Regions from separate parts of the Homo sapiens genome. Here all the other regions are linked to region 1. The links are contacts of gene promoters, found by promoter capture Hi-C in blood cells and fetal thymus (Javierre and others, 2016). All regions are on one chromosome and are shown on one strand. The core of a region is centred on a gene start or on the middle of the fragment in contact, and the rest is flanking DNA. Distances in the headings are between cores, read along the strand shown.

Region 1 (5,045 bases), core at 1,384-3,883:
CCACTCCTGCCACTCACTGGAACAGAAGGCTTATGGAAAGAGCCCCACTTTTACAGAACACGAACCCCAGTATAAGGCAGCATTATAGCCCTTAAACACTGTGAAGTAATTTTGTGACATCTGTCTTTTCAACTGGAGTGTGGGCTTCTTGGGGGTAAGACATAGCTGGTAGTTACTCAGTAAAATATCTTACTGTTGAATGTTACATGTCTACTCCAGACATGGAGACTAGCATGAATAAATGTTAAACAAAACTTTGTTGAAGTAACAAAATAACTGAGATTGGAAACAAAAGGATGGGACAGGTTTGGAATGGCGTGAAATAATGAGTGAAAGTTCAATTATTCTGAGCTCAAGTTAGAAGTGTAGGAGAAGGAGGAGAGTGTGTTGTATTAAAAGCAAGGCAAAAAATAGTTTCAATGGGCAATGTTATATGTTAAATGCTACAAGCAAGTATATCATGTTTTTCAGACTGAACACTATTAGAGGCTACTTGATTTGCAAAACAATAATCAATTCTTTGGGGTGGAGATGGGGAGATTAGTTTCACTGGAATGTTACCAGGTTGAGAATATGAAGGAGCAGTAATTTGTAGGGTCCAGAAAATGCAAGGATCACAGCACAATTAATTTAGGTGGACAGTCAACAGAGTGGGCATACAGCAGGACCTTTAGGGTGGGCATACAACAGGAACTTTTGGGAGGTGAACAGTCCTATCTGCATGCTTCTCATCAATTCTACATTTTAATCCAGGCCATCTTATCCGTGAGGTTAAGGATCTCTAGAGAAAGAGAACTCTAGCATAAACTTTACTTAAATGTAAGCTAAACCCTTCACCCAAATGTTTTAATCATATGGATTTAAAATGTGAAATGACAAGTGGAAGTGACACGTAATTATGACCTTATTTTTTGAAACAGAGTCTCAATCTGTCACCCAGGCTGGAGTGCAATCACGGTTCACTGCAGCCTCAAACTCCCAGTCTCAAACGACCCTTCCACTTAAACGACCGAGTAGCTGGGACTACAGGTACGCGCCACCACACCCGCTATTTATTTTATTTTACTTTTCGTAGAAACAGGGTCTCACTGTGTTGCCCAGGCTGGTCTTGAACTCCTGGGCTCAAGTGACCCTCCCACTTCGGCCTCCCAAAGTGCTGTGATTACAGGCATGAGCCACCAAGCCCAGAGACTTTTCTTTCTTTCTTTCTTTTTTTTTTTTGAGACGGAGTCTCACTTTGTTGCCCAGGCTGGAGTGCACTGACATGATCTCAGCTCACTGCAAGGTCTGCCTCCCAGGTTCATTCCAGTCTCCTGCCTCAGCCTCCCGAGTAGCTGGGACTACAGGTGCCCGCCACCACGCCCGGCTAATTTTTGGTGTTTTTTTTTTTAGTAGAGACGGGGTTTCACCGTATTAGCCAGGATGGTCTCCATCTCCTGACCTCGTAGTACGCCCGCCTCGGCCTCCCAAAGTGCTGGGATTACAGGCGTGAGCCACCGCGCCCGGCCTCCCAGAGACTTTTCTATCTGATTACTTTTCAAACACATTCTAGAGCATCCTAGAACTTGTCCTTTCCTAGTTCAGTTTATTACTTTCTGCTCATGCTCCAGGAGAGAATATAGCTTTTAGTCATTTAGTCTCTATGTGGTCCTTCCTTGATTTTCTAAGGGTCCTGAGTCTGTGGTCCCAGAAATAGACAAAAACATGTGCAGGGCATCATAGACTCTTGCTAGGCTGGAAGTAGAGTTCCTCTCTTGTAGCCAATGTCCTCTTCTCCTCACCCTTCCACTCCCGAAATACACACACTCAATATACAGTGGCCAGCACATCTGTTTTATGGGACCAAGAAGCTGAATCCTAAAGGTTAATGAAGGAAAGATACGCAGAAAGTCCAGCACTTTCCTAATTCAGCAGCACACAGGTTTTCACGTCTAATATTTAATTTACGTAATTTATTTTCAATCTCAATTTAATTGCTTTTCTTGAAAAGATGTTTGGGACAAGGTCAACAATGAGGGAGGAATGTCACCGGGTCGGGATCTGGAAACAATCAGCTCTGTATGGTTTTAAAGATGAAGCGCCAAGATCTTAAGGAACCTGAATTCCTGGTGAGCAATCAAGTTCTTTAATCGGCCCCCAGCAGGATGTCAACGGCGTAAAAGACAAAAAGAAAATCTATTTTAAAAGATAGATTTTGTGTTTTTAGATTAATTTTTAAAAAGCGAACCCACCACAAACTTCCCAGTTTTTAAAGAAAAGGCCTCTCCCACCGCAGAGCCCTCCCGAACCATGGGACAGCTCAGCGGCAGCGTCCCACCGGCTGCCCGCAACCGGTGCCGCGAGCTCGGAGTGCAGCGCTGGGATCTCGCGTGCTCCGGGACAGCGGGCTCCTTGAGCGCCGCGGGGCGGGGCGTGGGGCAAGACCCGCCGGCCGCTCCCTTCCCCACAGCGCTTAGAGAAGCAGCGAGCGCCTTTCCTCCTGTCCCGGAGTCCTAGCCTGGCCCGAGCTACCTCCAGGGCGCCCGCTGCTGCGGTGGCAGGAAGTCCCCGGGAACTACAAATCGAGGCATGCTGGGAACATTCTCCCGCTCCTCCCAGGAAATGTCCTTTGTCCAGCCCTACAGGAAGCCCCAGTGAGGAGTCAGCCGGGCAGCCAGCCAGCGAGCCAGCCAGCCAGCCAGCCAGCCAGCCAGCCAACCAGCCAGCCAGCGGGCCACCCAGCGGCCGCTGCAGCCGCCGCCGCCGCACAAGGGCAGACGCGCTGCGGTGCGGGGCTCGGGCCGGGGCGCTCGGTGCCCTAGCTCCTCGCCGCGCCAGCCGCCTCGCAGGTAGGAGCGTGGCTGTGGCTGGGCTCAACCGCCTCCCGGGGATGGGGCTGATCGGGACCAGACCCGACCGCTGCGGGGATGGGGTGTGTGTTCGAGTGCGGTGGCGGAACGGCTGGGCGAAGTTGTGCCTCGTAAAGTGGACCGTTGTCCGCTCCCCTGGGGCGCAGGGCCCCGGGCTTATGGGGTGCTCTCGCGCCCCCAAAGCCAGGACTGAGCTCCCTCAGGGGTATGTGGCGAGGGGCGGGGAGGAGGAGGCTGAGACTTGAGGGAGGAGACAGCGATGCAAGAGGGAATAGGACCGTCCCGCCGACCACCGAAGGGGGCATCAGAGACCCTCGGAGAAACCAAGCCCAGGGAGGAGCTTGGAAGGCAAGGAGAAGGTGAAGGGCTTTGTGTGCAGCTGTGGACCTTGACGGACTGCGCTCCCCTTGCCTTGTCTGTTCGTGCCTCCAGCCCCACTGGGGCTAAGGGAGGGTGGGGGGCTCCGAGAAGGGCAGGAGAGAGGCGGCAGGTCATCTTGGGTCCTAGTGAATGAAATGTGTGCCTCCCTTTTCCTCTCTTCTCCATTCTAGCCCACTCAAATGAGCGGCTTTGGGGCTGCCATCAGACCGGGCAAATGACACAATAAGGACGGGTGGGTGGAGAGATGGGCAGCAGCTCGCAGCCCAAGAGGGGTGGCCGTCTAGCCCCGGGAGGCATTCCAACCACACGTGTCCATGTAGGTAGGTGGTGGGGTGGTGGGCAAAGCTGGAACCTGCACCTCGCGGGGATGCCGAGGCTCAGGATTGTGCATGGAGGCACGGGTGAGGCGCGTGTTGGGAGGAGTGGGTGAGTAAAAGGTTGAGGGGGAGCAGCGACACAGAGGCGCTGAGTGTACCTTATGGCCAATGTACATTATGGCCATGCATCGGGAACTGACTACCACTTCCTCTGGGACTTTCCACGATTTTCCTTTTTCCTAACCGCCTCCCCCAACCGCCCCCGCCCTGCCTCCCCCACAGGAGTGAATCACCCACCCCTTACTACATGAACCCTGGGCTGAATTGAAGTTGGTGATGTATCCCTGTCCTTGTAGTGGGCATGTTTGTCCTTAACCTGTAGGATGACACCAATACTCCGCATCCCCTACTGCGTTACCCTCCTCCCTCAAGACTGAGCGTCTGGTAAATGCGGTTGGATAATGGCTAGCGAGTTAAATGTCTTTGAGTAGCTGTGGTGGATGAGTGGGCAACTTTGAATACAGTCCAAGTGTGACTGTTGTAACTGAACTCAGCATGCCTAAGGGGCCACACTCACTATCTCTCCTTTCTCCCCTCACCTGATTTTTTGTTGATGCCCCCAACTGTTTACCTTCTTCTCTCAACAAGCCAACATGTGGATATTATTTAATGTGGAATACGTTTGAGGAACCAAATGAACCTTTAAGAATGCCACTTATATGGCCAGGCAGGAGTATGCAAGGCTCATGGTCGAAAGAATGATGCTGTAGGACATGGAGAGAGCCCTGAGCCTGATATAAATGGCTTTCGAGGTGAAACAAAACATTTCTTCCTTAGCTTCTTTGGGAGAGATGAGGCATTTGAACTGAGATAAAGAATGGAATCGAGAAAAAAAACCGAGTTGTTTAGGATGAGGCCATGAGGATAATGAAGTGAAGGGAAGAGGCTCTGTGAATTTAGATGATTTCTAGTTAGAACATATTGGCCGTGTGTGTGTGTGTGTGTGTGTGTGTGTGTGTGTGTGTGTGTTGGAAGTGGGGGTTGTTGTTAAGGGAAAGTTGATGTCAAAAGTTCAGCCATGCCCAACAGAGAATAAGATGGCATCCTATTGAACAAGATCATAAATATGAAGTCAGGCTGCCCTTTACATTACACAAAGGAACACATAGATGGCTTTTCAGAACTACTGGGATAGAGGGGTAAATGGATGCTAGTCAGACAGAAGAACCGGCTGGATTGATGCGGCTGGATTGAAGTGGTAAATAGTGACCTCACATCAGCAGCATGACTAAGGCTCATGGAGTTGCATCACATTTCCTCTCCCTCCCCCACCAAAACTCTTTGAATTTCCTCAGAATCTACATTTTTTGCCTAATTACTAGTGTCCTGTGAAGGGAAGGAGAAAGGGTAAAGGTTGGTTGTAAGGATGATAAACTAAGGCAAGAAGGAGCTTGTCTGCTTATGTAGAAAGAAAAAAATAGCTACAGTGTCAGTAAGA
Region 2 (5,045 bases), core at 840-3,339, 370 kb after region 1:
AAATCTTTAAGCACCTATCTAAGTAATATTTCCTCTACACAACAGTCTATATGGCATGAGGCTAATATTCAGACAAAAATCAAGGGAATACACATCATACTACTAATTTATTATTTATGGCATTCTTGCATTGTGCCAGGAATTGAGCCATGCTGATAAATATTATTAGAACATAATCCCTCATTTCATAGACCTTCCCTTCATGTCAAGAGACAAAGTCCACCACAGTAAGAGAAATGACCAAAGTGTGCAGAGGATTCTATGGTAGCAGGAGAAGGTACTCAACTCAGACATGAGTACTGGTACTAAGGTACTGAGGACAGAAGGCTTTCTTAGCAAAGATGGTGTGTTAAACTGAGTCTCAAAGAAGCAATTAGCCAGAGGTAGGAGATGGGACATTCTAGGAATTCTAGTATCAGTGGTGTAGCTGTTTGCAATGATCTGTCTCCCAAACCCTCAGATGGTCTCATTATCATTGTCTTCACTAGAAAATTAATGAACAATTGCTTTGTGCAGAAGCTGTAGAAACTGTACTAGGTATTATAGATTCAACAATGTTTTCTATCCTTCTGTGACACACAGCTTAGGAGTGATTAGACAGCATGGATGGATGGATAGATATAGAGACAGACAGATGATGGCAATACCCAACCTGTACTTTACTTTTGTGTGGCAGTACCAGTTCTAAGGAGCTTCACAGTGGGCTTCATTTACCCTCACTGTCCTGAGATGGAGGTAGGGAAGACATTGCTTAATCCATTTTGAAAAAGAATAGATTCCTAGGCTAACGAATAGTGCAGATGACCAGTGCACATGCCTGATTACTTGAAAGGAAGTCAAGGGAGGAAAAACATCAAGGGAGGAAAAACATGGGTAAAGGGGGTAGATGTTCTGAAGGGAAGCAGATGAACTGGCCAAGCTGAGATGGGAAGAGAAAGCCATTGCTCTGAGCACCTGGAGCAGGTGCAGGTTCTCAGTTTTGGCAGCAAACTCACCTCTGGCTGAAGCAGCACCTCCATGAAGACCTAGAGGCTAGGCTGAAGGTGCTGTGGACATACCATTAACAGGAAGGCTGAAAAACACATAAAGTAGGAGTGACCTAGGAGAGTCTTCCCTGAGTTGGCCCTTTACAATATGTTTGACCACTTGAGCACCAGCTCTGTGGGGGTCAGCATGGTCTGGGGCTGGGATTATCACTATGATGACTCTTCTTCCACCCCTTCTCTCCATCTCTAAATGCTGCATCCCCCTGGGCTTAAGTCTAGATTCTGTTTAAGTGCCTCTTCCTTAATTTCACAACTAGGTTTAGAGGCTCAACTGAACTACCATTTGTCACAAGGTATTGGAACTCAGAGTGTCTCTGTCTCTCCTACTAGTCTGTGGGCCTTCGAGGGTAAGGATCATGTTCCTATAGTGTCAGCACTTACTACAGAGACTAGCAAATAGTAAGTATGCAATGAAATTTGTTGAATAACTAAATAAATGAATGGGTTTATGTACATAAGAATATCACCAGATCCCCCAGACCATGACATCTGTGGTTTCTATATAAAGAATCCAGTTCCTAGGGCATACGGGATTTTTTTTTTTTTTTTAATCTAGAAGCGCTTCTACTCAGAAACAGTCTTATTTCCAAACACTATTTATGATGGTCTTAATTTTCTTCTTTTTTTTTTTTTTTTAGAAAGAGTGTCTTACTCTGTTACCTAGGCAGCTGGAGTGCAGTGATCACAGCTCACGGCAGCCTTGAACTCCAGGGCTCAAGCAATCCTACTGCCTCAGCTTCCCAAGTAGCTGCAACTACAGGCACATGCCACCATACTCAGCTAAGTTTTTTTTTTTTTAATTTTTTGTAGAAATGGGGTCTCATTTTGTTGCCCAGGCTGGTCTTGAATGCCTGGCCTCAAGCCATCCTCCTGCCTCTGCTTCCCAAACTGTAGGATTACAGGTATGAGCCACCGCATCTAGCCTGTGATTGTCTTTTTGTTGTGTCAACTTGGATAGACTACAGTCTCTGGTTACAGAATCAAATACAAATCTAGGTGTTATTGTGAATGGAATTTTTAAATGTAATTTAAGACTATAATTAGTAGACTTTAACAAAGGGAGCGTATCCTAGATAATCCAGGTGAGCCCAATTTAATCAGCTGAAAGGCCTTAATAGCAGAGCTGAGGCTTCCCTGAAGAGGAAGAAATTCCACCTGCAGATGGCAGCTTCCACCTGTGCCTGACAGTTCCAGTCTGCCCTCCTGAGTGCCTGCCCTACAGACTTCAGACTTGCCTAGCCATCCCCCACAATCACATAAGCCAATTCTTTGTAATAAATCTCTTAATATTTATGTCCTATTCATTCTACTTCTCTAATTGGATCCTGACTGATACACTATAAATTCAAAGTGTCTTAGAGAGGCTGAGCTTGCAGTTTCCCAGTGTACTTTCAGTAAATAACAGAATGTCAAACTTTCAGAGCTTTAAATCAGACATACTCTTATTCCTGCTGATACATTCTACCAAGCATCTTTTCCTAACATGGACCAGTTAAATGTCTTATTTTTCTTTTTTTTTCTCCAAGAAATAGCGTCACTTGCCAAAGATGTTTTAAGTTCATTAATTTAACCCTTCTCCCCAGCCATTTCTGCAGGTGTGGTAGAGAATAGACCTCCTTAGAAGTTATGGTTAGTGTCAGACTGGGCTGCCTTGCCACCTTGAAGTAGCGTAGATTTGAGAGTATAGATTGTCTTTCAGATTACAGAACTAGTCCCTGACTTACTCCAGAAGTTAAGTAGCAGAGCTTTTACCATGCTTAGTTCCAAATTCTAGAACAACCCCCAGCCTTCTCCAAAGTTAAAAACAGTCTAATTGACAGTGGTTGATTTTGGCTGGCTGGGTGATGATGAAAGAAAGGAGAGCACTTGCATAGTTTATGGTGAAGATAAAGCACATATCAGGCATTGTAATTATCTAGCCGCACACTATAAACTTTTCCATTTCATTCATTTCCGTATCTCTTGCTCTTTATTGTCAGTTGCAGAGGCACAACACTTTTCTCAGGATTCATGATCAACTCTGCCCTTTGGAATTGTTCCTACTGTCTAAAAATTAATTCCACATGCATGTACAAACTTACATTTTATTTTCTCACTGCCTTCTGATTTTAAAAATGGTTCTACTTTCATTTTGTCATAATTATGCTCCTTTTTTAAGTAACACTTTTAATATTATTGCTACTTTTGCACTTCTCAGATATGTGGAGTCAAAAATGTTTCTAGAACATTTCAAAATCATGCACAAATGCAGCAAATTACCAAGTATTAAGGAGTAAGTGGTTGGCAGAGACCTAAATGGCAGGGCATTGGACAATAGCGCCATCTGTTGGTTGTGGATAGAGCTGGCTTCTCTCTATTCGGTCTTTATTCTTAGGTATAAAGGGTAATTTCCTGTGATAGTTCCTAGGAGGAGGAGCTTCTGTCATGATTTCACACACCCTTGACGTACTTTCTTTCTGTGAATGTTAGAAGCCTTTAATAGTAAGGGTCACTTTGGTCCCAAGTGGTCAGGCTGGGCCTTTGGAAGGCCAGGTGAGCCCACACAGGGAGTTCTGCGTGAGCCCCTCATTGCTCCTATACCAGTGCCACAGCTGTTTTCCAGTGAGAGCCATTACCTAGATTACAGGTTCTATACTCTGGCTGCACCTCAGAACCTCTGGGTTGTGGCATAGGCTTTGTGATTTTTTCAAAGTTTGCCAGTTGATTCCAATGTATAGCTAGGGCTGAAAAACACCTAAAGGAAGAGAAAGACATGGAAGAATTAACATTCTACACATTTGTTAAGATCTCCATTTTCCTCATGCCAGCATCCACTCTTTTCAGCCAAAGCACTGTTTACCAAATGTATCCCAAGGAGATATTAGAAACAAACAGGTTTCATGATTTTTCCAAGATCAGCCGATACTTCTGTGGCAGGTCCAGGTCTGGAACCTGGCACCCAGAGACCTAAGCCACAAGAGCTGTGAGCTGAAAGCCATCAAGTGTCCCAGTTTATAATTGTGTCCTCATCTGTAAATGGATGGCTTTAGACCTGAGTTTCCTTTTCCTGGAAAGATAAAGCCACCAGAGGTGAACTTCATTCTTCTTTTAGAGAAAGGAGGAAACAGGACGACTTTTGCAGCCTAATGTGACAAGGCAGCTTTCTACCATCTCAAGAGAGACCATAGCTCTTGGCTACGGTTGCCTGCAAGCCCAAGAATGGGACACAGGAAGCTGAATGAAAAATCCTCCTATCTTAGAAGCTTCCCAGGAATTTCATTAGGGCTGTTTATCATGAAAAGTTGTTTAAGATTTAGGGATACCTCAATATGTGTTCTAACGTGGAAAACAGACCTTTCTTTACTCAGTGGAAGAAAATATTGAATTGACAAATGTATTTACAAGACATTTCTGTGCCAACAGGTCACTCTCTACATTTCCTGATATATCATCTCCTGACACATTCTTTCAGAATTTTATGACTATTAGGATCTAAGATTGGATGGAACTAGGATTGGATCCAGTTCAGCAGTTCCTTAGACCAGGAAAATAGCCCCAGCTGTCAAGTAGCTCTAAGCAAATGACTTTAATCTTCCTAAACTTGAGTCTGTATCAGCAATAAATGGAGTTATTGTTATAATCAAATAACAGAGAGCACAAGAAAGGTTTGTAAACTATAATGTGCCATATAAAGCTCAAGCAATATGATGAGGACTGTTTTTCACTCTCCAAAGGGAATCTTTCCTCCAACCAAGTCCCCTCTTTGTCAATCACAGTGAGTGGAATATGCTTGGCCCCACCCTCTCCAAGACTGTCCCTGTGTCCCCATCTTACCCTCTCATCCTGTCCAAATCCTGCCATTATTCCACACCCAAATCAATTTTACCAAGTTCAAGAAAACACTTTCTGACCAATATAGTTCAGTGATTTCTCCCTTCTCTAAATTTCTGTAGCATTTTACAATTGATGCCAAAGAATGTATAAATTCAGATGATTTGCCTTGCCTCCTGTTCTTTCATC
Region 3 (5,045 bases), core at 839-3,338, 350 kb after region 1:
ATAGAATAAAATAGGACAGGACAGGGTAGGATAAGATAGGACAAGATAGGTCAAGATAGGCTAGGCTAGGCTAGGCTGGGCTGGGCTGGGCTGGGCTGGGCTGGGCTGGGCTAGGCTAGGACAGGACAAGACAGGATAGGATAAGAAAGGATGGGATGGGATGGGATGGGATGGGATGGGATAGGATAGCACAAGACAGAACAAGAAAGGATAGGACAGGACAGGATAGGATCGGATCGGACAAGACAGGACAAGAAAGGATAGGCCAAGACAGGACAAGACAGAACAGTATAGGACAGGACAGAATAGGATAGGATAGCATAGCAGAGAAGTGAAAAAAGGGCATTTTAGCCAGAGAAAGGCTCATGCAAAGGCCCGCATGGGACATGCCATCTTCAGTTTGTTGTGGCTAGAATGAAGACTAGAGGGAGAGAGAGGAAGAGGAGTGAGAAATTATCTCAGATAAGTGAGAGAGCTGCCTTCTGAATCCTTACTTGATCCTCAGTTACTCTTCACACAGTGCCCTAAGTAAGTTTTACAGATGAGGAGACTGGGTTGAGAATGGTTAGGGGAGTCACCAAGGCCACCTGGTTTTGAGAGGCAGAGCCAGGACATGAGCCTAGATCTGCACCATCTGCTAAGAACTTCAAGAACAAGGACTGCCTGCAGCAAATTCCCTGCACTTGGTTTTATCCATCTCCAAAAAATTATCAGGGAAAAAAACTCAACAAAGGAAAGGGCTCTGTAATTGTTTTTAGGGACAGTGACAAAGCAAGGGCATCTGCCTTGCTCTGCACAAATAGGAGCAAGACTTAAGAGGACCAAAGGGCCAGAAACAGCTGAAGGAAGGAAGGTAAATGGCTCAGCTGTGAGACTCACAGAGACAAAAAAGGGAGGCTTGGGGTAAGGGTCAAGAGGCCTATTCCTATTTGGGGCTAATGAAGACTATTAGACGCCCTAAGCACTGAAAAGAGGATACTCTCATCAAGTTATAGAAAATTAAAAAATAGGGGCCAGGCTTGGTGGCTCATGCCTGTAATCCCAGCATTTTGGGAGGCTGAGGCGAGAGGATCACAAGGTCAGGAGATAGAGACCATCCTGGCTAATATGGTGAAACCACATCTCTACTAAAAAAATACAAAAAAATTAGCTAGGTGTGGTGGCGGGCACCTGTAGTCCCAGCTACTCGGGAGGCTGAGGCGGGAGAATGGTGTGAACCCGGGAGGCAGAGTTTGCAGTGAGCCGAGATCGTGCCACTGCACTCCAGCCTGGGTGACAGAGCCAGACTCCGTCTCAAAAAAAAAGAAAAAAATTAAAAAATATACATGAAAACATAAAGTAATGATAAGGAAGTCCAACAGAATTCTCTCTCTATTTTTCTTTTTGGATGACAGCTCTAATTTATTAATTTTTTTTGAGGGTGCTAAGGTTGTATTTGGGGAACCTGATGCCCACTGAGTGGTGTTAAGAACTACTCCCCCATTTTGCAGACAAGGTGACTTCAGTCACAGGAGAGATGGGTCCAGGGCTTTGCCTGAGCCTTCAATCTGCCCTGGGAAATGAACAGCCTTAACTCAGATGAAAGTCTCGGTTTTTCCATTAAAAGCACTTTCCCATAGCAAATTCTGAATGCAGCCTGAAATCAAGATGTGCTATGAAATTTATTCCTCTGGGGCATACGTGCAGCTTAAACCGCTTGTTTTACAAACAGGAGAAAATTTATGGTTAAAAATTTACTCTGGGGAGAGGTTAATTAGAGTTTCTACTCTGGTTCTTGAAATACCACTAGCAAATCTCATGCTATTACCCAGAGCTCATCTTACTTGGCCAGAGGATAACCCAGGGCTTGAAATCAGCTGAGGTTCAGTTTTAGAGAAAGCAGGAGCTCTCTCCAAAACTTGCCCTCTTCATACCTGCTTGAAGCTCCAAAATTTGACATGAGGAAGGAATATGATTTCAGAATGCAGAATATGGACTGTTCTGGCAGAAAAGTAAGCTTGAAGAGAGGCCTCATAATACAAAGCAGTAAAGATCAAGAAAAGACACTCCAACTTCTTTACCTGTATAATTTCCTAGTGGGTCTGAAGGGGTGCTGAGACCTCTGATATTTTCAGCAAAGTGAGCCTTCTTATAGCCTGGTTCTTAAAGCAGCATGGTCGTCCTGACCTCTAGGAAGCTTAATATCAGGTCTAATGAAATACAACACGTGGCTGACATCAGAGCCTGTCTCAGACCACACATCAAAGGGAAGGAAGTAGATGCTTTGATCCTCTCAGTCATTGCTCTCTACAGAAAGCTTTAACAAAAGAAGGAGGGAACTGGATGGGGGTGGGGGTGGGAATCAGGGACTGGTTTTTCCTTCTGCTGGTAATGTTATTCTTCAAGTTTTGGAGAACAGGCAGGAGGGTGGGTGTAGGGAGTGATTTTCCTGTTGTAATTTCCATGGGCTGAGGTGTCTATCTTCCCCCAAATCCCTGCCCTGCCTGTACAATGATTCCTGAATTCTAGGGTTTAGTTTGCTTAGCTTGAGTTTTTACTTTTATTAGAATATAAACCCCTCCTAGGACAGGCAATAACAAATGCCATATTATCCCACTCTTCAGTAAAAGTATCATGTTAGAATGCATTTCAGATTTTGTCATTATACCAGCTAAAAGTATCTTGGCTCCTGGTGAGCACAGGGTGCAGTCTGCATGTGTTCCTGGGAGGGCTCGCCTTCCCACTAGGACCTCGACCCTGCCTAGCCTCTGGTCCCCATGTCTGCCCCTCCCTGCATGAACATTAATCTCCAGCAATTGCCCTGAGCTGTCCTGTGGCTTTTCATCCCTATTCATGCAGTTGCTTGCTCCTGCCTTAAGATATGCTGTCCTCTGGGGTGGAACACCAGCCAAAGGTCAAATGTTATCCTGGTTCCTTACAAAGATTAGGCCATGAAAACATTTATCATATAAATAAAAAAAGATAAATTGCACCATGGCGTATCTGTTTTTTGTTTGTTTGTTTTTCTATTCTGCAGGTTTTCAATGAAAGGAAGAGTGTGAGGCATTAAGAAGCCTGAGGAAGAGAGGAGAGAGGGGCTAGGGGCTCCCGCCTGGGAACAGGGAACTGCAAGAGGGCCTGTTCAGTGCTTTGGCCTAACTCGAAGTGGTGCCGCTAAGGTAGGGGTAGGAATCTGACTCAGAGCTGATGAGCACAGGGACAAGCCTGGCACACTTGGTTGGGGTGGGGAGGAGGGACAGAGGAAGCAAGAGCCAGAGGAGGGGGTTAGGCAGAGGAGGCAGAGCAAAGCTTAGGAAACCCTGGCTAGCAAGGCAGAAAGGAACAGGAAGGTTGCTGCCCCAGGTGCAGTGGAGTCAAAGGCCAAAGAACCCCAAAATAGTTGCCTATGAACTTTTTAGCGTCCATCATGTTGAGTCTGTTTTCCCTCGGCAGTTAAAACAAGTCTTAGTAAAATGTGAGGGAGTAATTGCTAAAGCCCAGATGAACCTGAGGAGGTGGTAGGTTAAATTGTGGTTGGAGGTGTGTGATGGGAGACTGAAGTGAGATACAGGGGTACAGAGAAAAATGGCCGGTGCCCAAATGGCCTTCCCCTTCTCTCCCCTGGGGCTGCGGAGGTCCACGGAAGGAAGAGCTCTCTCCCCCAGCGCCCCTCCTTTCCACCTGATAGGGCTGAGGCCAAGGTTTTCTCTAGGACCTTGACTTTGACATCTGCCCTGGGGGAAGATGACAGGGTGGTGACTGGCCAGGAGTGAAAGCACTGAGATAGGGACATGGGGACAACGTGGCATCATTCTCTGCTTCTTTTCCTGCAGCATGTGCTATTTTCACTATTCTCCTCATGCTGGTGGCACCTATGCTCCCTACCTACAAACTGAGAGTGGTAGCCACCTGTCACCCTGAATGGAAGTCATGGGTAAGAATGTGGCAGAGAGCAAGCACTTTGTAATCCATTAGCTTTGCTTCTTTGATATGCCTTGTGACGGCGGACATTACCTGTGTTAGTCAGAGTAATGTCCTAGAGGGACCCTGACTAGAGGGACAGAACTAATAGGATATATATATATATATATATACACACACACACACATATGCATATATGAGTGTATATATATACACATATATGAGTTTATTAAGTATTAACTCACACGGTCACAAGTTCACACAATAGGCCATCTGCAAGCTAAGGAGCAAATAGAGCCAGTCTGAATTCCAAAACTGAGAACTTGGAGTTCAAGAGCAGGAAGTATCCAGCACGAGAGAAAGATGTAGGCTAGGAAGCTAGGCCAGTCTCTTTTTCACATTTTTCTGCCTACTTATATTCTAGCCTCACTGGCAACTGATTAGATTGTGCCCACCCAGATTAAGGGTGGGTCTGCCTTCCCCAGCCCACTGACTCAAATATTAATCTCCTTTGGCAACACCCTCCCAGACACACCCAGGATCAATACTTTGTATTCTTCAATCTGATCAAGTTGACACTCAGTATTAACCACCACATTACCTAAGCAATCTGAGCATCAGTTTCTCCCCTGGAAAATGGAAGTAACAATAACATCCACTTCTTGGATCATTGTAAAAAGTAACTAAAGGAAGGTATATAAAGCATATAAAACAGCACCTGGCACAAGGATATGCTTAACATACTGTACAAGAGGAAGCTGGAACATCTTCCAAGGCATTGAGGAGCTTGGTGTGGGCGCCTTGGATTTTGGCTTCTCTTTATTACCTATAGTAATAAAGATAACGCGTGTTTTTACAATAAAAAAGTATGCAGAGAAATTTCAAATGCACTAAAGGCCTATCTCTGAAAAAGTAAAGGCATTATACACATCTGTCTTCTTGCTTTTCTTAGTTCAGCAATGCAGCATTCATCAAAGAAGAGGATAAAAATGGTGATTTTGTCCCACTGAAGTCCTAATTATGCTCATTGAAATTTACATATTTAAGTATTCTTCAGAGGTACTATTCTCCATTCTTAGATAAGGGGGTGTATGAATACCACTTAAATGTGTATATGTTTACTCTTTAAAGTCAAGTCTCTACAG

What was found. Contacts are between HindIII fragments. The CHiCAGO score rates a contact against its expected background, and 5 or more counts as called.
Region 2: a contact is called between a fragment that was not itself captured here and the fragment with the promoter of ZNF697 in region 1, in 4 of 17 cell types (naive CD4 T cells, naive CD8 T cells, non-activated CD4 T cells and 1 more). The highest score is 6.2, in naive CD4 T cells.
Region 3: a contact is called between a fragment that was not itself captured here and the fragment with the promoter of ZNF697 in region 1, in 6 of 17 cell types (non-activated CD4 T cells, total CD8 T cells, activated CD4 T cells and 3 more). The highest score is 7.1, in non-activated CD4 T cells.

Annotation. Positions count from the first base shown.
Region 1 is chr1:119,645,854-119,650,898 of GRCh38, reverse strand. ZNF697 (zinc finger protein 697) reads left to right here and starts at 2,633. Exons shown (of 3, transcript NM_001080470.2): 1 at 2,633-3,208. LOC124904389 (a long non-coding RNA gene) reads right to left here and starts at 2,583. Exons shown (of 2, transcript XR_007066506.1): 1 at 2,512-2,583; 2 at 1,923-2,175. RefSeq lists enhancers at 2,556-2,625, 1,797-2,637 and silencers at 2,696-2,755, 3,053-3,216. The HindIII fragment of the contact is 7,030 bases long and covers 1-5,045 here.
Region 2 is chr1:119,273,923-119,278,967 of GRCh38, reverse strand. It overlaps WARS2-AS1 (WARS2 antisense RNA 1), which reads right to left. Exons shown (of 7, transcript NR_125975.1): 7 at 2,995-3,780. Among named protein-coding and RNA genes, the nearest start is that of LINC01780, 52 kb to the left of the region's middle. The HindIII fragment of the contact is 4,403 bases long and covers 1-4,290 here.
Region 3 is chr1:119,292,139-119,297,183 of GRCh38, reverse strand. No RefSeq gene overlaps it. Among named protein-coding and RNA genes, the nearest start is that of LINC01780, 34 kb to the left of the region's middle. RefSeq lists enhancers at 2,031-2,610, 2,611-3,190, 3,191-3,770. The HindIII fragment of the contact is 180 bases long and covers 1,999-2,178 here.